Linked DNA regions of Homo sapiens: region 1 is linked to region 2. The links are contacts of gene promoters, found by promoter capture Hi-C in blood cells and fetal thymus (Javierre and others, 2016). All regions are on one chromosome and are shown on one strand. The core of a region is centred on a gene start or on the middle of the fragment in contact, and the rest is flanking DNA. Distances in the headings are between cores, read along the strand shown.

Region 1 (4,065 bases), core at 1,474-3,973, 5.9 Mb after region 2:
GAGCCCTCTCCTGCCCTGCTCATTCCTGACTAGCTACCTACTGTAACAAGATTGAGATCTTGGGCATCTCAGTCTTATCTATAGAGAAGTGGCTAGCATGAGAATAAAGCTGCAATTTTAAAGTAGTAGTAGTTATTTGTTTGGGCCAAGAAAAAGGTGTTGTATTTTGTAGTCAGTAAAGTGAGCTTTTTGTCTGTGCTTAGAAAAGCTTAATGAAGTGGTTTGCTTTGTATCATTGTATCATGATTTCAGAGTGACCTTGTCTGCAGTTGCTATTTTGTGAGATTATTTCTCTTCAATAGGAGAATAACAAGGCCTAGCTGTGAGTGTCAGGCCAGCTTCTCAATGTTAAGGACTCTTTCCTTTTTCTTTCTTACATTTTAGTTTTATAATACATTTTTCATTCAAATATACATACAGAAAAGTACATAAATTATAAATGAATTTTCATAAAGTGAACACATCAGTGTACTAATGTTCGGCTTAAGAAACAACATATCCAACTTCCAGAAGTCCCCTTCATGCACCCTTCAGATCACTAACCCTGAGGTTACCCACTATCCTGAGTCTAACACCACAGATTAGTTTTGCCTGATTTTGAATTTTTTATGACTAGAAACATGTAATATGCACTTTTTTGAGTATAGGCTTATACTCAACATTATGTTTGAGATTCATTCATGTTATTCTGTGTCATTGTAATTAGTTCATTCTCACTGATGAATAGTATTCCATCATGTAAGCACACCAGTTTATCTCCATTCTAGTGTTGATGGACATTCAGGAGCTTCCAGTTTGGAGCAATTAGGAATTAGTTCATAGTGCTGCTATGAATGTTCTCGTACATGTTTTTGGTGAATGCCATGTATATATTCCCGCTGGGGAGGAGTCGAATTGTTGTATATTTATGTTCAGCTTTAGTAGATAGTGCCAAACATTTTTCCACAGTGATTGTACCAATTTATGCTCACACCAGCAGTGTAAAAGAATTCTGGTTGCTCTCTTTCCCATGTTATGTAAACTCTTCCAGAATACAGAAAAAGATGAAAACTTCTAAATGCATTCTACAAGGATTCTATTACCTTGATACAAAATTGAGAAAGTATAGAAAAGGAAAACTATAGGTTAATGACATCTTTAAATGGAACTGTAAAGATAATGAAAATATTAGCAAACTGAACCTACAAATTTTTTAAAAAAACCAAACCAGGACCAGAATGGGTTTATTCCAAGAACAGAAGTAATGCTCAAAACTAGGAGGTTTTGAAATAATGCATACTAATTTATCAATGTTAGCTATTATATAATTCATTAAATCCCAAATTTATTTTTGTTAATATAATTCATTAAAATAGAAACTGTTAATATAATTCCTTTCGAAGACTAGAGGAGAAAAGCAGATAATCTCCAAAGATGCCAAAAAAGCCGTTGATAATATTCAATTCTCACTTTAATAAAAATTCTAGAAACAAAGATATAAAAGTCCATGTTATATCTCCTTCAGTCTACTTGTCGGGTTCATCATCCATTATTACCCCACATGAAAGCTAACTTCTTTTTCCTTGCTCCTCCATTTGCTAGCTGTGTAGCCTTTGACAAGTTACTTAACCACTCTGTGCTGATTTCCTATGTGTAGTAAAATAAGAGTACCTACCTTATGTTGTAATGATCAAGTCCTCAATACATTATTCTTAATCACTTTTTAATTGCAAGAATTTGGTCATTAAACATCCCTTTGACTGGATTGCGAGCACCTTGACAGCAGGGACTAACAGTGGAACTTTCTGGAGACTTAAGGAATGTCTGTTGAATCCTGATGCAAGCTTTCTCACCTTCCTGTGTTCTCTCATTGCTTCCTCATCCTGTCCAGCCGTCCGTCCACCCGTCGCAAGCCTAACCCCAGTCAATAACCACTGTTTACAACACTTTCTTTGTACCCTTCTTATAGTGCTTATTACATTGTTTTGAATACTAAATGAATATATAGTGCGTCGTTGTGTTTAACATTTAGGACATAACCACTCATAATGTTACAGTTAAAAAAATAGTTTTGTGCATTCCTCTAGGGCCGAACTGTGCCGTACTTCTGGTTTCACTGTACAGTGTCTACAAAGCACAGTGTCAAAGACAGAGCTCGGGATGAGAACTGGGCTAAGGCGCGCCCCGAACTCCCCAAACCCTATTATTCAGGGCCCGGAGAGGTGCGGGCTCCGAAGGTGTGGAGAGCGAAACACGCAGAGCAGTGATTCCACTCATCAGTCACACAGTAAGACGGGACAGCCCCATCTCGCAGTTTTTCATTATTCAACACAGAGCCCAACGCGCACGCAACAGATCCGCGCGCAGGGCTGTTTGGAGGCGCTTGGGGCGCACAATCTGGGGCAGGCGGAACCTTAGTCCTCAGCCTCGCGTTTCCCGCGACTCCGCTCTCACCGCTACACTACCACACAAACGGCCTCCTTCCCCCACCCCCGGGGGCCCATCCCGGTGGCGGGCTCCGGAGCTCGGGACTGCTAATTTCAGCGAAACGATTAAAAGACGCCCCTACAGCTGACGGCACTTTCTCTCCTCCGGCAGGGAAGGACGTCCAGCGTAGCGTCGCCCGCGCTTCCCCGCCGGCGCAGAGCAGGCCTCACAGAATCGCACGCCGCTGGCACGCACGCCGCCCCGCCCCCACGGCCCAGCGCCAGCCGCGCCCCGCGCTCGCACGCATCCCGGCCTCACTGCCCCTCGACTCCTGTTCCGTTGGAGGGGCCTGAGGCGAGCCTGAGCGCGCTGTTGGCCGGAGGGAAGCCGGAGGAGACCGGGTCGACTGGGCAGAGCGGCAGAGGGTCGAGGAGCCTGCTCTGCACGCCCAGGGAGTAGAAGTGGGCAGGGAGCAGGGTCACGTGAGGGAGCGCGCCGCGACTGAGCTTGGGTCCGACTGGAGCTCAGGCTCGCGACCCAGACTGGTGGGCCAGGCCTCCAAGCCGGCCTTACACCCAATCCAAGGAGGACAGACCGGACACAGAGGGACGGAGCGAGCAAGGAGACATGGCTTCATCATTCCTGCCCGCGGGGGCCATCACCGGCGACAGCGGTGGAGAGCTGAGCTCAGGGGACGACTCCGGGGAGGTGGAGTTCCCCCATAGCCCTGAGATCGAGGAGACCAGTTGCCTGGCCGAGCTGTTTGAGAAGGCTGCCGCGCACCTGCAAGGCCTGATTCAGGTGGCCAGCAGGGAGCAGCTCTTGTACCTGTATGCCAGGTACAAACAGGTAAAGTAGCAGGGAGAGGGTGGATGGGGGAGAAAGACACGGAGCCTTCTTCCTCAACAACTGATAGCAAGCATGTATGGTTAATAGCTAGGTGTAATGAAGCTTGTGTATGTGTATTTTGTTTTGTTTTTTTTTTTTTGACCATCTGCTGGGGATGAGCATCATCCTGAACGTGGAAAAGATGTTTGCTTTCTTAGGAGTGATGTTTATTTAGCTGGACACTGGACATTGTTTTTGTGTTTTTTTCTCTGACTTATTCAGTGATCTTGCATTTTACCAGCCCAAGAACCTTTACAAAATGAGGATAAAATAAGATATATCATTCATTTACTCTTTCCCAGAGGGCCACATGGAAGTAAATACGGTAAAGTTAATAAAACTATATAGAGATCCAAAAAGATAATAGGATTGTAATAATGTGATGCAGGGCTGGGCGTGGTTGCTCACGGCTGTAATCCCAGCACTTTGGGAGGCCGAGGCGGGAGGATCACCTGAGGTCGGGAGTTGGAGACCAGCCTGACCAACATGGAGAAACCCCGTCTCTACTAAGTTAGCCGAGCGTGGTGGCGCATGCCTGTAATCCCAGCTACTCGGGAGGCTGAGGAGGCGGAGGTTGCGGTGAGCGAAGATTGTGCGCCATTGCACTCCAGCCTGGGCAACAAGAGCGAAGAAACTCCACCTCAAATAATAATAATAATAATAATGTGATGCAATGCAAAATGCAGTATTACAACTTTTATTGTGATTTTTATAAAATCCTAAATATCTTTGATTTATGTTTTCGTTGAGTATGTCTTCCTTTCTGTTTGA
Region 2 (4,298 bases), core at 874-3,373:
CTCTTTCAAAATTTTTAAATGTAGTCAACCATACTTTATAAAAGGCAGTACTAAAAATGTATATAGTCAGCTTTCCACATCTGTGGTTTCCACTTCCATGTATTCAACCAACCACAGATTGAAAAATTATTTTTTTAAAGCATGATTACATCTGTATCATTAAAGATGTTTTTTCTTGTCACTATTCCCTAAACAATATAATATAACAACTATAGCATTTACATTGTATTAGGTATTATAAGTAACTTAGAGATGATTTAAGATATGCAAATGCTACACCATTTAATATAAGGAACTGGAGCATCCATGGATTTCATATCCATGGGGTGGGCAGGTGAGAGGGTCCTGGAACCAATGCCCCACGGATACCAAGGGACAACTGTATTTTGCCTTATAGGGTCATAATTTTCCAGAAATGTTGTATATCAGCCAAAGCCTTTGTGGTCCAAGCACTGTGACTGACACAACTCAACCTTTCTGGGCTCTGGTTTCCTAATCTATAAAATAAAGCATTTGAATCCTAGCAGATCTGAAAACCTATCTAATTTTAGGATTCTGTGAATCTAAGTACAGAAAAATCTACATTTCCCAAATGACAGATCAACAGTATGATAATACTGTGGGCTTAGGACATAGCATAATACTTCATATACCAGCAACTTTAATTACAATGCTTATCTAAAAAATATTTTTGGGGAAAAATCAACCTTAAGCTCCGCTGTTGATTTATTTTTCCTTAGTTATTACAAAATATCATAAAATGCTTCCATTTATATTTCTTAGACGGCTTCACAACATGATTCAAAAGTAAGAACTAGAGAAAAAGAATAAATTTCATATAAGAACTAAATCACCAATTCACAGAAGGCCCACGACTGTGGGAACTGCAGAGAGACGACACTGGGAATGCATTATTTACAATGAATAATTTAACAAATTCTTTCATAAGAGTAAACACGAAACAATCTACGGATTGAGCTTTAAAACTACAGAATTATGATCTGGAACCATACAAGTTCTGTTACTGTAGAAATTAACAATGTGTTTAAAAACTTCAGTTACAACAGTTTTCAATTTTAAAAACAATATAATGTTAGGTAACCGTTTCTGCAACGAAAAATTTAAAACATAGGCTACACTCAAAGTGCTACCGGTTTCTTTTAATTCTCCTCCTGAAGAATTAACCCGGGTCCTTAAATTCCCGGGTACTGAATCACTCAGTGCCACCTCCCCACCACCAAAAACCATTTAGGTACGCCGTTTCACACAAGGTAAGTTCGTCAGAAGTGTGTGCCGGAGTGACTGTCCATATGGTTCCAACACTGTCCCTTCCTTTTTCTCTTGAAAAGAGAGCACACACACACACACACACACACACACACTACACTTAGGCTGACTTACCTGTTTTCAGAATGTGCACTCGTGGCAGACAATTACCTCGGACGGTCTCTCCGCCGGAGATGGGGGTTTCGGGCCCAAGTACCAGCCTCTAGGGGCCAGATTCCCTCCGGTCTCAATTCACTGCCACTGAATTCATCAGAAAGCGACCTACTTCCCACACCTCACTTCCCACTCCAAAGCCAGGGACTTGGGAGTCAGGTGGCGCAGATTGATGACGTAAAAGCCCCCCCTCCCTTCCCCGCAGAGCCTCAGCCAAAGCGACTGCGGTCGCCACCCCGCCCCCTTCTGGGCGCCATAGAGAGCGTGGCGGTATCCCGGAGCCTGCCGTCCGGCCCTACCGGGACCGATGCCCTCTAGTGGCTCAGTGTCCAGAAGCCGCCAACGAGGACGATCCATGGCATCCCGGGGCTTTGACGGTAAGGTCACCAGCTCTTCAGGGAGGGCCAAGGGGTGACGAGTACGTATGTGGCGCCACCGTGCGGACAGCGGTTACGGGGCCGAGATAGGAGAGCCAGGGGAGCGGGGAGAAAAACGGAAGCTGAGAGGGCGGTGCAGCATTGGGCTCCCGGAAAAGAATGAGAAAAACACTACATTTCCCAGAGCCCTACAAGGCCTGAAGTGGGTGGAGCTGGAAGCCGGAAAATTGGGTGCGCAAGAGGATCAGGGATAGCCTCTGAGCTCGGGTTCCCAGGGTTCGTAGCTTCCAACGGCTGCGCGCGCACTTCGGTCGCGGGCGGTGAGGTGCTGTTGCTGAAACGCTGCCGCTGAGGGTGGACTCGATTTCCCAGGGTCCCGCCGCGGGAGTCTCCGGCGGGCGGGCGCGCGCGAGCCACCGAGCGAGGTGATAGAGGCGGCGGCCCAGGCGTCTGGGTCCTGCTGGTCTTCGCCTTTCTTCTCCGCTTCTACCCCGTCGGCCGCTGCCACTGGGGTCCCTGGCCCCACCGACATGGCGGCGGTGTTGCAGCAAGTCCTGGAGCGCACGGAGCTGAACAAGCTGCCCAAGTCTGTCCAGAACAAACTTGAAAAGTTCCTTGCTGATCAGCAATCCGAGATCGATGGCCTGAAGGGGCGGCATGAGAAATTTAAGGTGGAGAGCGGTAAGTGAGATGCTCTTTCCGTCCTTGGTTTTGGGCTCGACTCCCGCCCTTTGGGTCTGGTCTTCCCCCATCAAGTTGGCACTGGGTACCGCTCTGTTAACCTCACTTCCTGGGCTCTGTGGATATCCTGAGCCTTCGCTTTCCTGCTCCTTACAGTTTGATAAGAAGCCTTTGAAAAAAAAATCTGAATCTAAGTTCAGTAGCATTTTCTTTGTAGTTAGGGTAGGCTCATACAGGGACGCTTATTTTCCTTCGTCCGGCAGACGGGAAACAGACTTGATAGAGTCTGCGAACCCATCTCTCTAAGCCTAGAGTACCTTATATGTTTTGTTGCACTTCAACTGATAGTGGCTCCGCCCTATTTTCTAGGCACCTGCATTCTAGGCCTTTGCCAAATTGACCACTCTGTGCACTTGTTCTTAGTGTGTGCGTCGTCCCGTGGCTCCAGAACGAATCAGATGTTTACAAAAATGAATATTAGGTGCATAAGAGCGCTGGAAACACAGTGAATGTGCAGTACATAAATTTAATATATCTTGATTTCTCTTAAAAAGTTGGAGTTTGATAGAAAACATTAAAATTTTCTTGTAATTACCTAAAGTAGGCCTTTAAGTAAGAAAGTTACTGACAATAATGGCTTGAACATCCTTGAAAAAAATATGAAGAATATAGTCATTACCATTAGTAAAATACAAACTTCCCGTTAATGTGTTTTGGTTTACCATTTGTTTGGGGAGGTTCATACTGTTCTTGCTAAGTTGACTGGAAATTCTGAACAAGTTTTTACTTCAAAAAAAGTGTAACTGTCAAGCAGAATTGACCTTGAAAATTAGTTCTCTGATCCCAGAGCTGAGTATAGTACATTGCATTCTATTTATTAATTTGCACCATAAATATTGAATGTCTTACATGTTCCTGATACTATGCTGAACATGATATTCAATCCCTTCCCTTGGAAAGTTTACACATTTACTTTTACATATATTTAGTAGTTTTATGCTTTCAGGTAATATCTTGACTACTATAAAAGAAGTCTTTTAAAACAAAGGAGTTTTTTTTTGTCTAAACAATTTTTTCTCGTGTAATAAATACTTTATTTATTAAGCAGTTTACTGATGTCTGGAGAAAATACTAAGATAAATGAGGTTACCTGCCTTGAAGACATTGATTTGTAAAGCCCCTTTTAGGCCTTATTTTTATTTTTTATTTTTTGTCATGTAAGTCGTTTGGAAATGCTTTAAGTCCTTTTCAGTGCTCAGTCTATTTATCTTTACTCAGATTCTCTTATGTGGAGCACAATTCTAATACTGTATCTTAAGTTTTAAAATCAAGGTTATTAGAAATAAATAACAGTATTCACAATGTATGTACATGTGTTTGATTTTGTTTTTTGTTTTTTGCTTGTCTGCTGTAGAACAACAGTATTTTGAAATAGAAAAGAGGTTGTCCCACAGTCAGGAGAGACTTGTGAATGAAACCCGAGAGTGTCAAAGCTTGCGGCTTGAGCTAGAGAAACTCAGTAAGTATTTAATTCATCTTTGTAAGTATTCTCGGAGTATCGAAATCTTCAGAGACTCCTTTATATACTTTGGAAACATTTGCTTACTAAACATGAAAATATTGATTAAGCATCATTGGTTTTTATTATGGTGATATTTTGATTTTTCACTTAGTGGTAAAGATTTTGTGAGAACACAGAATTTAATGGTCAGGAGGTCTGGATTCTTATTCTGATTTTGCTATTAAAATTGCTTTTGCCACATGTAAATCTTAACAGTATCTGATTATTGTTTATAAAAT

The links. Contacts are between HindIII fragments. The CHiCAGO score rates a contact against its expected background, and 5 or more counts as called.
Region 1: the fragment with the promoter of ACBD6 here is called in contact with the fragment with the promoter of TPR in region 2 in 2 of 17 cell types (total CD4 T cells and total CD8 T cells); the score reaches 11.7 in total CD4 T cells.

Annotation. Positions count from the first base shown.
Region 1 is chr1:180,501,235-180,505,299 of GRCh38, reverse strand. ACBD6 (acyl-CoA binding domain containing 6) reads left to right here and starts at 2,723. Exons shown (of 8, transcript NM_032360.4): 1 at 2,723-3,255. The coding sequence starts at 3,034. RefSeq lists a silencer at 2,656-2,755 and enhancers at 2,966-3,155, 2,677-3,177, 3,285-3,800, 3,801-4,065. The HindIII fragment of the contact is 1,534 bases long and covers 1,826-3,359 here.
Region 2 is chr1:186,373,078-186,377,375 of GRCh38, reverse strand. It overlaps TPR (translocated promoter region, nuclear basket protein), which reads left to right and starts at 2,123. Exons shown (of 51, transcript NM_003292.3): 1 at 2,123-2,498; 2 at 3,913-4,017. The coding sequence starts at 2,348. ODR4 (odr-4 GPCR localization factor homolog) reads right to left here and starts at 1,538. Exons shown (of 14, transcript NM_017847.6): 1 at 1,402-1,538. RefSeq lists enhancers at 1,509-1,698, 1,869-1,918, 2,079-2,378 and a silencer at 2,939-2,988. The HindIII fragment of the contact is 6,872 bases long and covers 1-3,993 here.